4 separate regions of the Homo sapiens genome follow, and regions 2, 3 and 4 are each linked to region 1. The links are contacts of gene promoters, found by promoter capture Hi-C in human tissues and cell types (Jung and others, 2019). All regions are on one chromosome and are shown on one strand. The core of a region is centred on a gene start or on the middle of the fragment in contact, and the rest is flanking DNA. Distances in the headings are between cores, read along the strand shown. Region 1 holds the start of CD180 (CD180 molecule). Region 2 overlaps MAST4 (microtubule associated serine/threonine kinase family member 4). Region 3 overlaps MAST4 (microtubule associated serine/threonine kinase family member 4). Region 4 overlaps MAST4 (microtubule associated serine/threonine kinase family member 4).

Evidence for each region. Contacts are between HindIII fragments. The study calls those that stand out against the background at their distance.
Region 2: a contact is called between a fragment that was not itself captured here and the fragment with the promoter of CD180 in region 1, in 1 of the 25 tissues and cell types used here (dorsolateral prefrontal cortex).
Region 3: a fragment that was not itself captured here is called in contact with the fragment with the promoter of CD180 in region 1 in 1 of the 25 tissues and cell types used here (hippocampus).
Region 4: a fragment that was not itself captured here is called in contact with the fragment with the promoter of CD180 in region 1 in 1 of the 25 tissues and cell types used here (dorsolateral prefrontal cortex).

The regions. Positions count from the first base shown.
Region 1 is chr5:67,195,183-67,198,268 of GRCh38, reverse strand. CD180 (CD180 molecule) reads left to right here and starts at 1,470. Exons shown (of 3, transcript NM_005582.3): 1 at 1,470-1,717. The coding sequence starts at 1,628. RefSeq lists an enhancer at 2,497-2,646. The HindIII fragment of the contact is 16,000 bases long and covers 1-3,086 here.
Region 2 is chr5:66,837,677-66,840,590 of GRCh38, reverse strand. All of the region lies in intron 3 of MAST4 (microtubule associated serine/threonine kinase family member 4), which reads right to left. Among named protein-coding and RNA genes, the nearest start is that of MAST4-AS1, 170 kb to the left of the region's middle. The HindIII fragment of the contact is 3,103 bases long and covers 55-2,914 here.
Region 3 is chr5:66,937,477-66,940,194 of GRCh38, reverse strand. The region is part of intron 4 of MAST4 (microtubule associated serine/threonine kinase family member 4); the gene reads right to left. Among named protein-coding and RNA genes, the nearest start is that of MAST4-AS1, 65 kb to the left of the region's middle. The HindIII fragment of the contact is 6,486 bases long and covers 1-2,718 here.
Region 4 is chr5:66,896,677-66,899,413 of GRCh38, reverse strand. All of the region lies in intron 3 of MAST4 (microtubule associated serine/threonine kinase family member 4), which reads right to left. Among named protein-coding and RNA genes, the nearest start is that of MAST4-AS1, 110 kb to the left of the region's middle. The HindIII fragment of the contact is 3,339 bases long and covers 1-2,737 here.

The DNA.
Region 1 (3,086 bases), core at 221-2,720:
TGCTTAGACTGTGTCTTGCTGATAGCATCTTCAGAGATGATTTTGTTGATGAAGATGGCATTTTAAGGGTGACCAGGAAAAGCCCAAATATGTGTAGCAGGCCTAGCAGACTGCCAAGTACATATTTCCTCCAATCCCCTCTGCTTTTTAGCATCTTTTCTGAAATCTCCAGATGAACAACATTCTTCGCCCCATCTACTCTTCAGCTCCTTCAGGAGGCAAAGTCCTTTCTTAAACTGTGAAGAGTAGCAGCATAGTCTCTGCAGTGAGATTTTCTGGATCTGAAGCCCTAATCTACCACTCTCTAATTGTGTGGCTTGGAGAGATCATTTAATTTCTCTTAAGCATCAGTTTCTACATCTATAAAATGAGGGAAATAATAATATCTCTCTTATAGAATATATGGAAATATTCGAGGATAGGAAAATGCAGCAAAAAACTGCATTAAACCTGACCCAGTGTCTGACACATAGTAAGGACTCAATAAATGGCAGATACTATAGTCATTTGATTCATCATAGTAATACTGTAGAGGTGGTGGTGGTGGTGGTGGTGGTAGTAGTAGTAGTAGCAGTAGTTAAGTCATTGTGAACTCTGATACTAAGAACTGGGCTCTTGGAAATGGAGTGGGAGAACAGTAACACCAAATATATCCTGTATGCCAGAGGGTTGAAGAACAGACAGAACAGGTAGCTAAATGCAGCCTATTGAGGAATGTTTGAACTTTGGCTTTCTTTAATCATTGCCACATCTTGCTCCATAATAAGGGTAATTGTAATCCTGCTTCAAAGCTATTTCTAAGAAGAAATAGAGCCAAGGCTGGCATCCCTAACTCTACTCTCCTTTAGCCAGGCTGCTCTATCTATGGCAGTGTCCCCTACTTCCCCAGGCCAGGTTAGGAGGGAACAAGAGAGTCCACCCCAACTGCTTTAACAAGCCTGAACCGCCAGGTCAAGAGATGAAGTAATCTTCCCCCTATACGAAGACCAGAGGTGGGGATGGACAAGGTGGCCAAGGCAGCAGCTGAGGCTCAAGGAGCAGATACACTCTCAAGCCTGCTCCCTCCTGCTCCAGTTCCCAGCTCAGCAGGTGCCACTGAAGGGCTCAGTTCTTCAGTCTGCCCCTGCAGAGTGCTCTGCCCTTCCATGTTCTCTGACACCTCTTCTATTCACTCACCTAGGACAACTAAGAAAGTGGCCTCCTTGGTGAGTAGAGCTTCCACAGCCTCTCTCGGGGAAAAGGACCAGAAGCTGTTGGAGTTGGCCAAATGCTTGAAGTTGGCATAAAGTCAATTGGAACCATCACAATGAGAGTCTGTGTGATCAGCCCAAAAGGACTGCACAACTGATTCATGTTCAGTGCCAGGAAATGCAACGGGCCATTCTGGGGTTGGGTCCTCAGTTATTTTTGGCAAAGATGGGTGGTATGCAAAAGGGACTTCCTTTTTTTTTTTTTTTTTTTTTTCCAGCACAGAGCCACAGAATGCTGAGCAGTCAACAGCATTTCTTGTTCCAAGATCACCCTTCTGAGTACCTCTCTGGCTGCCAAATTGCCAGGGCCTTCACAGTTTGATTCCATTTCTCAGCTCCAAGCATTAGGTAAACCCACCAAGCAATCCTAGCCTGTGATGGCGTTTGACGTCAGCTGCTTCTTTTGGGTGGTGCTGTTTTCTGCCGGCTGTAAAGTCATCACCTCCTGGGATCAGATGTGCATTGAGGTGAGTCCAAACTGTTTGTCTTTATGCAGATTAAACTGTCTGAAAATTTTGAGATTTAGCACGCAGTCCAATCTGAGCCTTGGCATCCCAATATCTAGTGTCTTTAAAAAGGAAATAAGGTGTATATATAATTTTTTCATTATTGTGAGAAAGGAGCCAAAGAACTCTGCCAGGGGATCATCTGGTGGCATCTTAATAGGAAGCAAAGAGAATTTTTCTCCTCTTCAAACAATTCCACCCAAATAATCCCAAGTGGGTCATAAGATATTAATAGGGTCTGTGTGCACAAAGCAGACCCCTAAACCTGCCTCAACCTAGGGGAGCTGTTGGTTTAACATCCCCACTCTCACATGGCCTCTATCCCAATGAGTCCTTTGGTCTCCTCTCAGGGTGAGAATTAGTAAAGACAGCGCTGTGCCAGGTTTTCGAGCATTGAAAAGATCACTCTGAATGAGTCTGGCTCTCTCTTGGACTTGGACAGCCTTCCATCTGTTTTACTAACCCATAGGAGGAAAATCTGAGAATAGAGCCAAATTGCACCTTCTGTTTTGGACCATAGCAATATTTATCAACCTGTGGGAAGTTCTTGGAGGGGATAATGAGAGAAAAAGGAGAAGGGCCTCCGTCTCTTGCCATCCTCTAAAATGCTTCAAACTTCCTCCCACTTTCTCTGACCCCACAAGTGATCAATACCACGTGGCCTGTCAGACAAGGGCTGCATACAGGAGGAACCATGAGTCTTGGTGGCTTGGTGAGCTGCTGGTCTGGGTTGAGGTAAAAAGAAGAGTAAGAGCCAGGAATAGCCAGATGTGGAGTTGCCCTGGGGCAGGACTAGAAGGAGATCAGAGGATCAGGAAGAGCAGAGCAAAGCCAGCACTGGGGTAAGGCTCAGAGCTGGGTGAGCAGAGCCTTGTTGGTCTGGCATTAGGATGGAATCAGCAGCAGGCCAAGAGGAGGCATCATGCCAATGAGAAATGAAGGCTGGGAAGGTGTGTGTTGCTTTGCTTGGGCTGTCATAACAAATGCCACAGACTGGGCCAGGCGTGGTGGCTCACGCCTATAATCCCAGCACTTTGGGAGGCCAAGGTGGGTGTATGCCTTGAGACTGGGAGTTCGAGACCAGTCTGGGCAACATGGCAAAACCCCATCTGTACTAAAAATACAAATATTAGCTGGGCATGGTGGCACATGCCTGTAATCCCAACTACTCGGGAGGCTGAGGCAGGAGACTCACTCAAACCCGGGAGGCAGAGGTTGCAGTGAGCCGTGATTGTGCCACCGCACTCCAGCCTTGGCGACAGAGCAAGACTCTGTCTTAAAACAAACAAACCAAAAATACACCAAAAAACAAAAACAAACCAAAAAAACC
Region 2 (2,914 bases), core at 357-2,856, 360 kb after region 1:
GAGGGCAGGCTCTGCCTATCATGAGGCCAAGCAAGGAATGAATGTACATGTCTATTACAGGAAGTAAAAAATTTAAGGATTGAATCTATCACACTACCCAAGTTTGATTCATAGTAACCATATTGTCTCTTAGCTTGATTGCTAAACAGAAATGGAAAATGAATCTGTGAGCTTAACAATCTATATTTGGAATATAGTTTTAAAGAAAAAATAGAGTCAAATCAATCTTGAATCAATATAATTCAATCTTTACCTTCATTCACAACGATGCTAAAATTGAGAAAACAGGTAATTAAAAAAGATAAAACAATCACTATCTCATCATGAAAAATGTTAAGATAAAAATATAAAATGAAATATTTCTAGACCTAGCTTCTAAATTTTAGCACAAAGCTAAAAAATTTTCATTTTAAAATTTCCAATTAGAAAATATTTAATGTTTTCTCTCATCATTTTGAGCTAGTTGTTACAGATTCTACGTCTGACTTCCTACCACTTTCCTGAGGAGTGCATATTCTCAACATACTAAACTACTAGGCCAAAGCTCAAAAAAAAAGTGAAGCTAGTAAAATTAAGCTTGTATTCTCATTTGTTGCCCAAGAACGCGTCAGTTTAAAAAAAAAAATTGTCAATATGATGCAATGGCTTTGTGAACACACACACACACACATGCACAAAGAAACTGGAAACAGAGTGCAAGAAAACTGATAAAAATGTACATGTCATGTGTTTTTCTTAGTTGAACACCCATCTTCAATTACAGATACTCCATTCAAATGGAACAAAAATCTTGGCTGAATTTGATGTAATCTCACTCTTTTAAATTCACTCACTGTTCAAGTAATACAGTACACCAACCTCATCATCTTCATTTAAAAATAAATTGCTTTTTCCATTACAGCCTCTAGTTTGAGATGTTTCATTCTGCCTTTCAAAAACTGTATTGGAATGAGACTTGTAGGCAAGTTGTCAAAGTTGGAAGCAATTTGGGGAAAAAAAAAACCTACACATCTTCAAAGCTGGACATATTATTTTCAAGGCCTGATACTAAACCACAGAACTACTTTGTGCACCATGTAATTTTAACCATTCCTGCAAAATAAGTGTTAAAATACACATTATGGTACAATTCTGGAAAACCATTCTAACAGAAATCTATGAGTCTGGGAGAAATTGCATTTTCTCTTTATTCACAGTCTAGTTCAATTAATTATTATAGTTGGTAACTTTACAGTCTCTCTCCAGGCTTGAGCTCTCTTTAGAAGTTTAAAACTACATATCCAACTGCTTACTGAACATCTGCACCTAGATGGCTTCCACAGGTACTTCAAACTCAAGATTCACAGAACGAACTAATTCTCTTCTCAGCATCCAAGTCACATTTATCTCTTGCTCTTGTTTCTAATCCCTAACTCCTGAAACCATAAGGTCACCTCAAGCTTCTTCCATCTCTCTTTTGCCAACCATCAACAGGTCACCATGTCCTGTTAATTCTACCTTCAGTTGCCTTTCTCCATTTCACTGTCACCACCTCGGTCCAGCAGCATCATCTACCACCTCCTCATTTCTAAATTCCTAGCTGTTTATCTTACTTCTTTTCTTGGCCTCTTCCTAAGCATTCTTCATTAATAGTTGACAGAATAGTTCACAGTTGATAAAATATTTCTATGCCCTGATTACAGTCTTTCAATGGCTTCCTATTGCTAGACTATGAGGCCCAAATCCCTGAACACAGACAGCATCATTCTTGAGACTCTGCTAAACACTTCCTGCTTCCCACATGCACTATTTGCAATTCCTTGAAAAAGATGCACCCTGTTCAGCCACCACACCTTGCACACACTGTTGCTTCCTCCGCCTAGAATCCTCATCTTGCCTAATCAGTACCTGTTCATCCTTCACCATCCGGCAGAAATATCTCCACCTCCATGAAGGCTTCCCGGCTTCCTTCCGCAGAGCAGGGCACCATGCTCAAGGCCCCTGTATCTTGACTGATGATAGTTGTAGCATTTGCTATTTCAGAAACTGTTGTCTGTCTCACCTACCATAACAGAAACCCTTCACAGGTCAGTGTCATATTCCACTCATTTTTGTACTGCTAGAGTCTAAGATAAAAGTACAATAGGGTAAGTTTAAGACACAGCACACAGTTCTCTGACACAAACAGTTCAATATATGCTATTATTATCATTAAACATTTATTGAAAGAAAAGCAAAGAATGGGGTTCTGTCCTTGACTGCCTCATCAAAAAAGCACATACATTCACAATCTAAATAAAATAGCCAATGTTTTGAGAGCTCAAACATGTACATTATTGAAGAGTATCTAAGATAAAGGTTTCCAAATCACAGGCATTATTGTCTCTAGCATTAGGAAAACATTTTAAGGGACAAAGCAACTGTCTCATCATGCCCTGGAGGTGGTTTTCTAATGGAAACCATGGAGCATGTCCAGCAATTTTAAAAACATAAAACTGCACCTGGACACTACCAGTGCCATGGGTCCCTTAGAGGTAATGGTCTAGAGCTGCCTCCAGCTACCCCACTATGATAATTGCCCCCCAAGGCAGATTGGTTAATGGTTTGAGCTCTCATGTTACTATCATTGTTGTTATTTGGAAGCTCAACAAACAAATATGGTGAGTATATCCACCTTCCAAACACCTCCACATTAAAAAAAAAAAAAAAAAAAAAAATATATATATATATATATATATATATATATAAAATCAAGTCTCACTTGAGACTTGATAGAAAGGAGACCAAAGCACTGACATACATTTTAAAGGCTGTCAAACCTTACATTTGGATATTGAGAAGTTGTAGGTTTGATGATCTGGGAGTTACCTGGACCCCTAGTCCCCTAAGAGCAGTGGGTTTCAACTCTGGCTGCACACCACTGAGAGATGCTAAT
Region 3 (2,718 bases), core at 155-2,654, 260 kb after region 1:
TTATGACTTGCTGAAGGCTCACAGGATCTTGTTTTTTAGCAATAAAGTATTTTTAAATTAAGATATGTGTGTGTGTATATACATACATATACATATATACATATATATACACATACATATATATTTATGAGACAGGGTCTTGCTCTGTTGCTCAGACTGGAGTGTAGGAGCATGATCATAACTCACTGCAGCCTCGTACTCCTAGGATCAAGGCATCCTCCTGCCCTAGACTACTGTGTAGCTGGGACTGCAGGTATGAGCCACCACAGCCTGGCTAATGTACATTGTTTTTGTAGACAGAATGCTATTGCACACTTAATAGACTACAGTATAGTTTACACATAGCTTTTATATGCACTGGGAAATCAAAAAAGTTGTGTGCTGCTTTATTGTGATATTTGTTTTATTGCAGTCACTTTACGGCAGTGGTCTGGGGAAAAAAAAAAACAAAAACCCAGCAATATCTCTGAGGTATCTTGTATACAAATAAATCCAGATTTGTTGTAAAATAAAACAGTATATTCATCACAAATGTTTTATATATAGATCTAGAAAATTTATCTGTAACAGAAATGACAAAAGATTACCTCAGAAAACAATTACAAATTGATACAAATGACCCCAGATACATAATGGCAAAATATGAATTGGTATTTCTCAGAAAAGAATAACTAACTAGCAAAATACAATGAAAAGGTAAAACGTTGTTAGTGAAATTCAAATTAAATTAACAATGAGATATCACTTTACACAGAAATTGGCAAAATATAAACATTGTTAAAATACATATTTTTGGCAAGGATATGGAAAAAGATGGTACTTTGCAAACAGTTTGCAAGTGGAATACGTGTATATATTATTTCCTCTCTGGTTCAGTTTATTTTCTATTAACCTGTTTTCCAGTTTACTAATCCTGTCTTCCACTGTGTTTAATTAACTTTAAACCCATCCAGAGAGTTCTTAATTTCAGATACTATGCTTTTCAGTTTTCTATTTGTTTCTCTCTTCACAAATTTCAATTCTCTGATGAAATTTTCCAAATTTCCATCTGTTTTTCTTTTACCTATTTTGTTAACTGATTAATATAAGTTAACATTAATTATGTATTTTTAAGTCCATATGTTCTAACTCCAATCTCTGGAGCAAAATTGCAAATGCACATTATATTGTCTGTCTACTGTCTTTTGGTCACATGTTTTTGTCTTTTAGAATATCTATAACTTTTAATTATCAGGTATTATACTAAAAAACTGAAAAGGCTCTAAATCAGTGTTCCCCAACCTTTATTTTTCACTATTATCTCTATAAAGAACTTTAATAGACTTTTTGTTACTAATTTCCCCAACCTGCCAGTTGTATCTGTTTATGTGTTGTGGGTTTTTGAAGGTCCACAAATCACTGTACCATTTAATATTTGTTTCACACTGGAAGAACCAATCTTGTGCCTACTGAGAACACATGCTCTAAAGGATGTTATTTTCTACAAGAGGGTGTTACTCTTCCTCATATAGGCAGATAGAGAATTGATCACCTTAGTGCAGTCATGGCTGAGCTGAGTAAAGGCTGGTTACGGTTCAGGTATAACTTGGTGTATCTCAGATTCGGCCCTGTTCCCAGGTTTTCCCTGGGTTTTCAACAGACAGCCTGGTGGACCTTTGCCCAACTCCTCTTTAAACTCATGAATAGAACACAATCATTACCATTGTAAAGCCAATTAGACAGTGTTCTTCTGATTAAAAGATACAGGTCCATTAAATTCCGGCAATTTTTTCATATCTTGAAGCCATTTTCTCTTTCTGGATAGCAAGAAGCTTTCACTTAAATATGAACAAGGCACTATGTGACAAAATTACCATGTAACTAAAAACCAATTTTCAGTTATATGGCATTTTAAATTTTAATATTTCTTATACTAGGGAGCATATTTTACACTAACAGTCTAGATTTATCTTAATAAGGCAGTAAAAGCATTATAAGAAAAAACATCTACCATAATCATTATGTAATGCTGATTTGGAATAAGATTCTAGGCAATATGACAGTTCTAAAAGAGGTAAAAGTATTGAAAAAGGTGAAAAATTATCATTATTTGTACATAATTTTGTATCTAGAAAACCAAACAGACTCAACTGAAAAACTATTAGAATTAATATAAATATAACAGCTAAGTGCCCTGAATGGATCCCACAGAAAAATATAAAATTCCAGTTTTGCTGCCAATGACAACAAGAAAAGGTGGTATAAAAGAAGAAACTATTAACATAAAAACAAAACTAAAATAAAGGGTATAATCATAAAAAAATATGGGTTAACTACAAGGAAAAGAAAACACTTTAGAAAGAGAAACTAATACCAGAATCATTAGACTGAATATAAAAAATGTTTCTGGAAGAAAAAATTAGATGCCACAGGATGACACTTTCTCCTAAGTAAAATGTATACTTTTAATATGCACCTTAGGGAAATACAGCATGAAGGGAGAACCTCAACCATGATTCTAACTTACCTAGAAAAAAATGAATAGTTGAAAAAAATGAGTAGATGAACGTACTACATAAAAACCTGTAAAAGAAGAGCAAATATAGAAACATATGTCTACCCTTGTTAAAAATAGTGTAGTAATGGCTAAAGAAAATACAGACCACAAAACCTGAAAGAATTTCTGTGAGGAGAGGAGGATTACTAAGTAATTGGAGGAGAAAGTGGTTAGCAAAAGGG
Region 4 (2,737 bases), core at 1-2,500, 300 kb after region 1:
CATTTATTCCTTGGGATATTTAAAAGTAGCTTAATCAACTTCTAAAAGGTAATCAGACAACCACAACAATTATTAGAGTGCTTCATAGTTTTAAAAGGGTGCCTTCACACTTATCTCAATTTTAAGATTCTTACCTACCTAATCATCAAGAGGCTGTGGAAAACTAAAAAACCACCCAAGAAAACAAGCCAACCAAAGAAATAAACAAAAATAGATTCAGAAATACCTCTTATCCACTAATGAAGTTTTCAAAGCTCAAGAATAATTACTTGCTGTCAATTATTAAAGAACAGGAAGCAATGAGTCGTTTGGCTATTTAAACTCAAAATGAAGCGCATTATGACTAAATTTGGTTATTCATGCCCATAATTCTCATTTATTTTTCTGCCTTTCAGGTGCTTGAGCACTATCCTTTGAAAGGTATTTCCCCATCAGCTTCAAACTCACCTTTCCTGTCTCTTATTTTTATTGAATATTTCAATGTTTGTCATGGACAGCAGGCTCAGCTATCACTTTTCCACAGCACAACTTACTCCAGCACAGCTTACAGAAAGTGGCAGTGAGAGCATCAGACCAGAGGGGAGGAGAGCTCTGTGGCTGCTGCTTTAAACACAGCAGGACTTACTTATTAACTGGCAAATATATTTCCATACAGAGTTACAGCAATCATAACTGTTCAAAAGCAAGAAAAACAATCAGCAATTTTAGGAATGAAGTGTCGTCTTCTTTCACCCAATAGCAAAACCTTTTCTTTTCAAGGGCTCTAGGGTTCAGTGGTAAAGTGCTTTTTGTTTTGTTTTGCTTTGCTTTGCTTTTTTCTTTAATCCTTGATTAGCTCCAAGAAATTATAGTGTTTGCTGAACTTGGCTCCCTGATTCTGAAACATAAATATACCTTCATTTACTAAAACCTCTAATGACAAGAGAAAAGTCTCTGACCAAGACAGTTTTCCTTGGGAACCGAAACATAAATAGAAAACCAATGAGTAATTTTCTATACATGGATCTTTGGTTACCATAAGCATTGAGAAATCAGTGTTGTATTCAGGTTAAAGAAAACAAAAAGAGAGAACTTCCTAGAAGTAATAGCTCACCACACTGTATCTTTTATTTTTTAATTTTTATTTATTTTTAGGATGAGGTCTCACTACATTGCCCAAGCTGATCTCAAACTCCTGGGTTCAAGCATCCTCTTGCCTCAGCCTCCTGAGTAGCTGAGATTACAAAATACACCACACTGTACCAGACTCAGGCCATTTCTCCTAGAAAGGCATTGATACTAGTGCAGAGCAAAGGCCTAGAGACCAAATGAATAATACTGCTCTGTCCAATAAGCTGATCTGACAGCCGCATAAAAGGTACCTGAGGTGTTATCATTAATAACAACAAAATAATAAATCAGATGTTATTTCAACTATATATGCAAATAGATCACTCAGAAGATATAAGAGGAAAGGGACCAAACGAATGACCCAAATAGTTCCATCAATCATATTCCACCAAATAACCTGAGCATAAACTGGCTGCTTTGCTCTGAGAAAAAGCTGCTGAAACAGCAAGATAAGGGATAAAAACCAACTCTGTTTTTAATCAGAAATCTTTCCAGTAGGTCTAGAATTATGAGTTCTAAACAAGGAGAAAGGTTACAGTGGGTAACCCAGCACTGCTGCTCCACGGGATGGCAGCCGAGATTCCAAGATGAGGAGCAAAGGACATTTAATAGGCCACTGTCAACTGACCTGAAGCTACCACGCTAACCAAGCTGTAGGAGCTAATCCACCTGATGGCTTGAATGTCAGGCTCAGGACTGGAAACTCAATTTGGTAGCAAATTGGAATCAGATGTGATGGTAATAAAGTGAGAGAAATGAATGTGCTGTGGCCAAGACCTTGTGAACAATAGCTGCAAAAGTCTGCAAATACCAGGAGGGCTAAGCGGTTGCAGCCTGCGCGGGGAGCAGCTCCTGCCCTAATGGATGAGGGCCACATGCTGATAAATCTGCACCTGTCAGACGTCAATGAACGGCATCAAGTCATTTTATCGCCAAAGTCCCTGCAGTACTTCGTGTATGTGTCCTCATTTTATTTTCTTAATGTCAGGATAAGGTCACTAACACATACTTAGATAATTAGATAAGACGTGGTATTGGTCTGGGTCATAAACCCAAGCTTGTGCTTGACATATGTGGAGTGTGTGTTAAAAATTTACTGTCACGTAAGAATTGGAGGAGGAAAGAAAAAGGGAAAAAAGCAAAAAACAGCAAGAAGTATCCATCTGAACTAAACAATATGCTAATTGTTGACACTGGATTAAAGAAATTCTTAAGATTAAAAATTTCTAGATTTTCATTGATATTGATGACTCAATGACATTTAACATTTTTTAGAGTTGCTGTTTATCATTACTTGCTTGATATTGTATCCTCCCCCCAGACTTTTAAGTGTTAACTAGCAAATATTTGCATTAAAGATAAAGATTAAATAAAATTAATCTTGTCTGAGAATCCTGTTGTTTTTGAGATCTCTCAATATACCTGAGGTTACCAAAAGATCCCTCCAATCCAGGAAGAAAACTCATGGAGAGTCTGAGAAGAAAGAAGCGTAAATGATCCTGCTCCTTTCACCCAGCCATCCTTAGCTTCAAAAAGAGAAGGCAACTATCTCATTCATGAAGACAGGGGAGAAAACTGTAATGTTTTACATGTACAAGCAACTGCCACAGTGGTAATTTTAAAACTA